Regions from separate parts of the Homo sapiens genome. Here region 1 is linked to region 2. Evidence: promoter capture Hi-C in 16 types of primary human blood cells and fetal thymus (Javierre and others, 2016). All regions are on one chromosome and are shown on one strand. The core of a region is centred on a gene start or on the middle of the fragment in contact, and the rest is flanking DNA. Distances in the headings are between cores, read along the strand shown.

Region 1 (4,714 bases), core at 2,109-4,608, 780 kb after region 2:
TTTTTTTTTTTGAGAGAGAGAGCCCTGCTCTGTCACCCAGGCTGGAGTTCAGTGACACGATCTCAGCTCACTGCAACCTCTGCCTCCCGGGTTCAAGCGATTCTCCTGCCTCAGTCTTCTGAGTAGCTGCGATTACAGGTGTGCACCATCATGCCAGCTAATTTTTGTATTTTTAGTAGAGATGGGGTTTCACCATGTTAGCCAGGATGGTCTCGATCTCCTGACCTCATGATCCTCCCACCTCGGCCGCCCAAAGTGCTGGGATTACAGGCGTGAGCCACCGCGCCCGGCCTCTTGTTCTTTTTTTGTTCTTTCTCTTGTTCTTAGCTGAGCTTGTTACATGGGTTCTAGTGTCCCATCCCAGACCTTCTGAATCAAAACATCCAGGAGAAAAATTCAAGGCTTTTCTTTCTTTTTTTTTTGAGACGGAGTCTCGATCTGTCACCAGGCTGGAGTGCAGTGGCGCAATCTCGGCTTATTACAACCTGCAACCTCCGCCTCCAGGGTTCAAGCAATTCTCCTGCCTCAACCTCCCAAGTAGCTGAGACTACAGGCACACGCCACCACGCCCAGCTAATTTTTTTTTTTTTTTTTTTTTTTTTTTTGAGACGGAGTCTCGCTCTGTGGCCCAGGCTGGAGTGCAGTGGCACGATCTCGGCTCACTCCAAGTTCCGCCCCCCAGGTTCATGCCATTCTTCTACCTCAGCCTCCTGAGTAGCTGGGACTACAGGCGCCAGCCACCACACCCGGCTAGTTTTTTGTATTTTTAGTAGAGACGGGGTTTCACCGTGTTAGCCAGGATGGTCTCGATCTCCTGACCTCGTGATCCGCCCGCCTCCTCCTCCCAAAGTGCTGGGATTACAGGCGTGAGCCACCACGCCCAGCCACTTTTTGTTATTTTAGAAGAGACAGGGTTTCACCATGTTGGCCAGGATGGTCTCAATCTCTTGACCTCGTGATCTGCCCGCCTCGGCCTCCCAAAGTGCTGGGATTACAGGCCCAAGCCATTGCGCAGGAGAAGGCTTTTATTTCTAATCATTGCCCTCGGGCATAACTCAGCACACTTGGGAAACACTGATCTGCTTTAAGAATCATTTGGGGAAGGTGGCTAAAAATAAACTTCCAGCCAGGCACGGTGGCTCACGCCAATAATCTCAGAACTTTGGGAGGCCAAGGCGGGCGAATCACCTGAGGTCGAGAGTTTGAGGCCAGCCTGAACATGGTGAAACCCCGTCTCTACTAAAAAAAATACAAAAATTGAGTGGGGCATGATAGTGGGCACCTGTAATCCCAGCTACTCAGGAGGCTGGAGCAGGAGAATCGCTTGAACCCGGGAGGCGTAGGTTGCAGTGAGCCGAGATTGTGCCATTGCACTCCAGCCTGGGTGACAGAGTGAGACTGCTTCTCAAAAAAAGTAATAAAATAAAATTAAAATAAACGTCCAAGCTCACACCCTTGGAGATTCACAGCATATGCCCCTTGGAGATTCTGATTTGGTGTAAGTTGGATGGGAAAATTTTTTCCAGAGGATTCTGCATAACCAGGCTGGGAACCACTGATCTACATGATGGGGTAAAGTACAGACAACTTGAGCCATGGCTGTTAAAGCCCTTTGTGCTTCAGCCTCTGGTTGGCTCTCACCACTCTCCCAATTTGTCCAAAATCACACTTTATGTCCCAGTTACAGTTCCTCACATTCGTCAGGCTGTCTCAACTGAGCAGTGGTACATAATGTCACCTATACCCGGTGGCCTTTTCCTTCACATGCATAACGTGAATGCCTTCTGGTGCCTCAATCTCAGCTCAAATGAAGGCTCCAGGAAGCTTTTCCTGATCCCTCTGGGGTTAAGCTCCTCCTCGGTCCATCACAGGGCCTGGTGCTCTACAGCCTTTATCTCACCCCCGGTTACTTACACATCTGCTTTCACTCCTGATCAGTGAAAATCAGATCAGCAGGACAGTATTTTAGTTCCGTTTATGTCCCCAACATGTAGCACATCAATTGGAACCAGAAGAATGGCTCAGGCTGACAGAGATATCCACCCTGACCCATGAGCCAAAGGCAGGTAATTGGCCAGGGATCCCAGGAAGGACCAAGTCCATTGGCACATGGGGCTTGACCATGGTACTAAGGCCTGGGTCTGAATGGCAGCTCCATTGCTGTGTCTAGAAGGGTCCCTTTACTTCTCTGAGCCCTCAGCCTCCATGAACAGGGTTCCCACAGTCCTCCTAGGTGTGTGTCATAATGACTTAAAAGTGAAAGTCATTAAACCAATGACTTGCTACATTGTTACATTATCTCAGTTTGTGGTGCCCTTAACCCTTAAGAGAGGTTCTCAGTGCTTATCATTTCAAGCGCTTGGTCCTTTGGAGGTTGGAAATCATGTCAGAACAGGGTCTTGTTCACCCCTGTACCCAGAAAGTTGAGCATGGTACCAGAGACAGAGCAGTAACTCAAAAATGCTTGCTAACAGCCGGGCGCAGTGGCTCATGCCTGTAATTCCAGCACTTTGGGAGGCCAAGAAGGGCAGATGACTTGAGGTCACGAGTTCAAGACCAGCCTGGCCAACATGGTGAAACCGTCTCTACTAAAAATACAAAAATTAGCTGGGTGTGGTGGCAGGCACCTGTAATTCCCAGCTACTCAGGAGGCTGAGGCAGGAGAATCACCTGAACCCGGGAGGCGGAGGTTGCAGTGAGTCCAGATGAATACCACTGCACTCCAGCCTGGGCGAAAGAGCAAGATTCCATCTCAAAAATAAATAAATAAAATAGTAAATTTTATGCCATGTATCTTATAATTTTTTTTTTTTTTTTTTTTTTTTTGAGACAGGGTCTCACTCTGTCACCCAGGTTGGAGTGCAGTGGTGCAATCATACCTCACTGCAGCCTCAACCTCCAGAGTTCAAGTGATCTTCCCGCCTTAGCTTCCAGGTTAGCTGGGACTACAGGCACATGCAACCATGCCCAGCTAATTTTTTTTTTTAATAGAGACAGGGGTCTCACTATGTTGCCCAGGTTGGTCTCAAACTCCTGGCCTCAAGAAACCCTCCCACCTCAGCCTCCCAAAGTGCTAGGATTACAAGCATGAGCCACCAGTTGGCCTTACTATACTTTTCTTAAGTGAAAATCTCCCTGGTGGTCTAGTGGTTAGGACGGGGGAAAAGATGAAAATTAAATAAGCACATAACCATAATGAGGCTCCATCCATAATAGCACTAAGATAAAAACTGTGTTAAGAGGGGAGTCCAGGAGGCAGAGGAAGGAGGAAAGGGGGAGGGCTGGAGCTGGGACCCTGGGAAAGGACATGGACAGGGAAGGGTGGGGAGCCTCAGGAAGAGGCCCAGAGCAGGCAACAGCCAGAAGGTGGGGCGGGTGTGGGGGTGGTTGCTGAGAGAGAAGGGAAACCCTAGGCAGAGGGAAGCCAAGGCCCAGCAGGCTGAGTGTCTTCTCAGGAACTGTGCTGACAGCCTCAGGATCCTGGGCCTTAATTTGGGTCTTTTAATGTCTTGATCTCTCCCCTACACCAGGAAACCCTCAGAGGCCCAGGCCCACTCCAGGACACAGCCCATGGGAAGTGAAGCCTGCACCAGTGACCCGCGTTTTTTGTTTTGTTTTTTTTTTTCCGAGACTGAGTCTTGCTCTTTTGCCCAGGCTGGAGTGCAGTGGTGTGATCTTGCTCACTGCAACCTCCGCCTCCCAGGTTCAAGCAATTCTCCTTTCTCAGCCTCCCGAGTAGCTGGGATTACAGGCGCCCACCACCATGCCCGGCTAATTTTTGTATTTTCAGTAGAGACGGGGTTTTGCCATATTGGTCAGGCTGTTCTCGACCTCCTGACCTCAGGTGATCCAACTGCCTCGGCCTCCCAAAGTGCTGGGATTACAGGCACGAGCCACCGCACCCAGCCAGCATTCTTTTCTGTAAGAAAACTAAGAGAGCCGAACTAACTCCAAGGGCCATGAGGCCTGCGCAGATCACTAGTACTGCAACAGGATCCCAACAGCAAATACTGCAGATCTGCTTGCACAATAAACGCAGGACCAGCCAGGCACGTGGCTCACGCCTGTAATCCCAGCACTTTGAGAGGCCGAGGTGGGCGGATCACGAGATCAGGAGATCGAGACCATCCTGGCTAACACGGTGAATCCCCGTCTCTACTAAAAATACAAAAAAATTAGACGGGTGTGGTGGCGGGCGCCTGTAGTCCCAGCCACTCGGGAGGCTGAGGCAGGAGAATGGCATGAACCTGGGAGGCGGAGCTTGCAGCGGTCGCACCACTGCACTCCAGCCTAGGTGACAAGAGTGAGTCTCAAAAAAAAAAAAAAAAAAAAAGAAACGCAGGACCCAAACACTTCTTAACACTTCTTACCACCTCCACTACTACCATCCTAGAAAGTATTCTAGGTTGCAGGAACAAACCATCTTAACTGGCCTCCCTGCAAGCTGGCTAGTAACAGCCAGTGAAGTCTGTTAAATTCCAAGCGAGACCATGTCACTCTGCTCAAAACCCTCCAACAACTCCCATTCCACTCCCTCAGACTCTATGTGTAGTGAAGAATTCTTACTTGGAAGTCTGGCCTTTACCCTCGGCTACTGGTAAGTGCCCTCTAGACCCATGGAATGTCCTGACCAACAGGAGTGTCAGTGATAAATGTGATTTACGATCTGAGCTTTGGAACAGGCAACCTCTGGGGGAAATGGAGACAACTAAAG
Region 2 (5,029 bases), core at 373-2,872:
ATTAAAGGAACCAGAAAGTGAGTGAGCAGTGTTAGATGTAACATATATCTTCTTCATCCATTAATTCAATAGATATTTGAGTCTCTATTATCTGCCAGCAGTATTTAGGGACTGGGGATATACAAGTAAACAAAACAGACAAAAATTCCTATCTGTTTGGAACTTACATTCAGTGGGAAGAGACAAACACAATGAAAGGTAAAACATAAGTCAGATAGTAGCAGGAAGTCTTTTTTTTTTTTTTTTTTTTTGAGATGGAGTCTTGCTCTTTCTCCCAGGCTGGAGTGCAGTGGTGCCATCTCCACTCAATGCAACCTCTCCTGCCTCAGCCTCCCGAGTAGCTGGGATTACAGGCGCCTGCCACCACGCCTGGTTAATTTTTTGTATTTTTAGAAGAGATGGGGTTTCACCATGTTAGCCTGGCTGGTCTTGAACTCCCGACCTCAGGTGATCCAACCACCTCAGCCTCCCAAAGTGCTGGGATTACAGGCGTGAGCCACCGCGCCTGGCCAAGTGGTATGAAGTCTTTTGGAGAAAAGTAATGCAGGGAAAAGGAGCAGAGAATGCTGGGATGTGCGTGCAAGTTTTTTTTTTTTTTTTTTGATGGAGTTTTGCTCCTGTTGCCTACGCTGGTGTGCAATGGTGCGATCTCGGCTCACTGCAACCTCCGCCTCCTGGGTTCAAGCGATTCTCCTGTTCAGCCTCTGGACTAGCTGGGATTACAAGCGTGCGCCACTACGCCTGGCTAATTTCGTATTTTTAGTAGAGACGGGGATTCTCCATGTTGGTCAGGCTGGTCTCGAACGCCCACGACCTCAGGTGATCCACCCGCCTCGGCCTCCCAAAGTGCTGGGATTACAGGCGTGAGGCACGGCGCCCGGCCTGGACTTCTTACATTAGCTATCAGAGCGGTGATGGTGCGCATCAGCCATGGCCAGGGACAGGAATATAGGGAGATGATAATAAAGGTGGTAATGAAGTCACGGCCACCTGCCCTTATGAAGTCAAAATCATTAAAGACCCAGTGACGTTCATGCCATCCAGGGTTGAGGCCTCTCTTCTGCCCACCTGTGGTCCCAGGCCTAGTTAAACACCAAAGCTGTCTCTCACACTGGTGGTTCCAGGATAAAGCCTCGGCCTGGGGCCTGGTCTGCACGTTAGGCGCCGGCCGCAGCTCGCAGGAGGACCCGAGCCAGCCCGCCCCTTCCCGCACAGCCTGCTGGGAGTTGTAGTTCAGTCGTCGGAGAACCACGCCAAGCCCCGCCCCAGATGAGTGCGCAGTATGAGGACCGCTGGCCGGGACCCAGTGAGCGCGGGACTACAATTCCCAAAGGACGGTAGCACTCAGCGCCCCGCCAACAGGTACCCGGCGGCTCGCTTCGCGCACACGCGGCAGGCGGTGGCGGGATTCTGCCGCGTGCGCTTTCCCGCCCCGCCTCGCCTAGCCTCGTCCTGCGCTCGCCACGCCTCGGGCTGTCCGTTGGGCCACGCAGACCGCGCTGCGCTCGCTCCGTCGCGGCTCCGCGTGCCCCACCTTCTGGCTAGTTTTTTCTAGAGCCCAGGCTCCGCCCGTTTCCCGCTTCCAGGGCCCGGTTCGTTCCCGCCCGCACCCGTCCCTCTCCTCTGCACCCCTGCTGCTTCTGCTTTGAAGGCGGAGGCTCCATGTTGTCCCCTCAGCGAGTGGCAGCAGCTGCCTCAAGAGGAGCAGGTGAGGCGCCGATTTTCCCTGGATCGCCCCGCGGCCACCCCCGCCGCCTTCCCTGCTGTAGTTCTGAAAAGAACCCCCGCCCGCGCCGCCGCCCTTCCTCGTCCCGGGGCTGGGACCGCGCGTCCCTCGCCGGGGTCACTCGGTTTCCGAATTTGTGGTGGGGGGGCCCCTCTTCGGGCCCAGCTGGTCCAGCGAGGGCGGCACCTTCCTTACTTTTCGGCCGGGGGCGGCCGCCGTCAGGGCTCGGGCCCTGGTGCCGCCGGGGGCTCCTCCAGCTCCTCCCCTGGGCTGCAGCTGCCCCTGGGCGGCCCAAGGGCCGGTGGTCCCCGTGGGCGGCGTCCGGAGCTTCGGCCCCGCCGAGCCCCGCCCTGGGCAGAGCCGGGCGCCCCAGGGCGCTGCCCCTCCGTGCCCGGGCACTCAGCGCCCTCTCTGGTCGGAGAATCGGGGCCTGGATGGAGCGGGAAGGTGAATGCTGGTTTATTTGGCCTTTCTGGAAGTGCTGGAAGGCTGCGAAGTGTCTTGGAAGCTTTATTTTTATCCTAACGACCTTGAGGCACTGACCACAAGTATTAGGAAAGTTGGTTTTCAACCCATACTTAACGCTGTAAAGAATTGGTCTAAATTGGTTTTTCGTAAGTTAGTGCTTTTGGCACAGTACGTTGTTCTTTTGCTTTCCCGAAGACATGAAACATAGTGAAAGTATTAAAAACCAAATAAGGAGTCACCGTGTATTCACGGATCTGATTTAGTCTGTCATTTTACTTGGCTTTATTCTAGTGTAATGTGTGTGCTGTTGAAATGACCGTTTCACTTGCGAAATCGAAGAGCAAAAAGGAAAAGAACAGTGAAGAATTTTTAAATGAGTCTCAGTTCTCAAATTCAAATACGAAGCAATGGAACGTTTTGTCAGTCTTAGAATAACGGACCAAAAATGTACGATTTCACATATTGGCTTACTTTTGGAGATTTAAGAAGCATAACCTACGGAGTACTAATCCCTGTCAAGAATTTAGCATTGCAACATAGGTACTGAAATTCAAATTAGTGCTTTTTTTTTTCCATTCCCACAGAGATTAGCTTGTACTCCAGAAATTCCTGTTGCCGCTCTAACACCTGTAAACACTTGGCTGAGAAGGATCTCAGTATTGCAGTAGTCCAGCACATTGTTTTATTATTATTTTTTGAGACGGAGTTTTGCTCTGGTCACCCAGGCTGGAGTGCAATGGCGCGATCTCGGCTGATTGCAACCTCCGCTTCCTGGGTTCAAGCAATTCTTCTGCCTCATCCTCCCGGGTAGCTGGGATTACAGGCGCTCTCCACCATGCGCGGCTATTTTTTTTTGAGACGGAGTTTCGTTTTTGCTACCTAAACTGGAGTACAGTGGCGCAGTCTCGGCTCACTGCACCCTCCGCCTCCTGGGTTCAAATGATTCTCCTGCGTCAGCCTCCCGAGTAGCTGGGATTATAGACATCCGCCACCAGGCCCAGCTAATTTTTTGTATTTTTAGTAGAAACGGGGTTTCACCACGTTGGCCAGGCTGGTCTCGAACTCCTGACCTCAGGTGAACCACCCTCCTCTCCTCGGCCTCCCAAGTACTGGGATTACAGGCGTGAGCCATCGTGCCCGGCCCATTATTGTATTAGCTACAGTTTACTACCTCATTGTAGTAGAATTCATGAAATAGAAGTAACGGGATAGATGTGGTGTTGTGTACTAGCTTAATTTTCTTTTTCTTTTCTTTTTTTTTCTTCTGGTGAGAAGGAGTCTTGCTCTCTCGCCCAGGGTGGAGTGCAATGGCGCGATCTCTGCTCACTGCAACCTCCGCCTCCCAGGTTCAAGCGATTCTCCTGCCGCAGCCTCCCAGGTAGCTGGGATTACAGGCGCCCTCCACCGCGCCTGGGTAATTTTTGTATTTTTAGTAGAGACGGGGTTTCACCATGTTTGCCAGGCTGATCTTGAACTCCTGACCTCAGGTGATCCTCCTAGCTCGGCCTCCCAAAGTGCTGGGATTGCAGGTGTGAGCCACGGCGCCTGGCCCAGTTGCGTGGTATTTCGATTGTCAGAACACCTTAGATATATTTCACAGCTGAAGTATGTTAACAGATTAGAAGACAGGCTTTCCTGGTATAGTAGGCGCTAATTAGGAAATCCTTACTTGGCCGGGAGCTGTGGTTTACTCCTGTAATCCCAGCATTTTGGGAGGCTGAGGCAGGTGGATCACCTGAGGTCAGGAGTTCAAGACCAGCCTGGCCAACATGGTGAGACGCCCCCCCCCACCCAAAAAAAAATTAAAAAAAAGTTAGCCAACGTGGTGTTGCAGGCCTGTAGTTCTGGCTACTCAGGAGGCTGAGGTGAGAGGATGGAGTGAGCCCAGGAAGTTGGCTGCAGTGAGCCTTTTTTTTTTTCTTTTTTCTGCAGTGAGCCTTGTTCTTGCCACTGCACTCCAGCCTAGGCAACAGAGTGAGACCTTGTCTCAAAAAAAAAAAAAAAAAAAAAAAAGGAACACAGCTAATTCAAACCTTTGGTGGCATTCTTATTCTTAGGAAAGAGATACAAAAGTGTTACTGAGCTCATTCCATTAAAAAGGTTTTTTTCCTCCACTTGTGATATAGCCTGGCATCATTTTCAGATTCAGCCCTCTCCTTGGATTTTCTGAATCTTCAGTACCATTTAGTCATAGATAATTTTTGTAAACCTATGAAGCATTACACAATCCTTAGTCAACAACAAAAAATATGGTTTTGTTCAGCCTTCTGTGCTATGGCGAAAAGATTTTCTACAACAGACAAATATAAAATTTGCCCAGTATTCTGGTTAATTAGATTTAAATAGTATTTTCACTGAAACAGCCTTAAGCGTATTGCAGTGTATCTACTGGCACAATCACTGCCTTAAGACAAAACGGTATATAAAAGCACCCACCCCTCCACCACCAGAAGGAACCACACCCAGCAGTTCTAGAGTTGGCTAAGGTCTTAGTATACTTACTCTTGCCTGTGATGATGTTTTCTCTGGCTTTGTCAGTTAGAAACCTTAAAGACTGCCAGCAAGAACAAGGCATGAAAATGGTATGCCTCTGTTTTGGGTGTGTTGCTCTTGCCCTTTGGAGAATATGATATTTTATAAGGAGACTGGAAAACTCAGGTCATAACTTTACCCTGAGTCATACATGAATCTACTCAGCAAAGTGTTTCTGTGACTGGTTGGTTACTTTGTATTCAGAACTCTTTGAATGGTAAGGATAAACACCAAGGCTGACTCTACTCAGTGGTTCTTAACCTATGGTAATATTGCCTCTTCCTGCCCCTGGAGCATTTAGCA

What was found. The method cuts DNA at HindIII sites, captures the fragments that hold promoters and counts their contacts. A CHiCAGO score of 5 or more calls a contact.
Region 1: a contact is called between a fragment that was not itself captured here and the fragment with the promoter of ATL3 in region 2, in 1 of 17 cell types (megakaryocytes). The highest score is 6.5, in megakaryocytes.

The regions. Positions count from the first base shown.
Region 1 is chr11:62,890,053-62,894,766 of GRCh38, reverse strand. No RefSeq gene overlaps it. Among named protein-coding and RNA genes, the nearest start is that of SLC3A2, 12 kb to the right of the region's middle. The HindIII fragment of the contact is 3,063 bases long and covers 1,827-4,714 here.
Region 2 is chr11:63,667,969-63,672,997 of GRCh38, reverse strand. It overlaps ATL3 (atlastin GTPase 3), which reads left to right and starts at 1,622. Exons shown (of 13, transcript NM_015459.5): 1 at 1,622-1,708. The coding sequence starts at 1,663. RefSeq lists enhancers at 1,106-1,215, 1,256-1,755, 1,756-2,257 and silencers at 1,306-1,425, 1,746-1,805, 1,836-2,095. The HindIII fragment of the contact is 2,416 bases long and covers 1-2,236 here.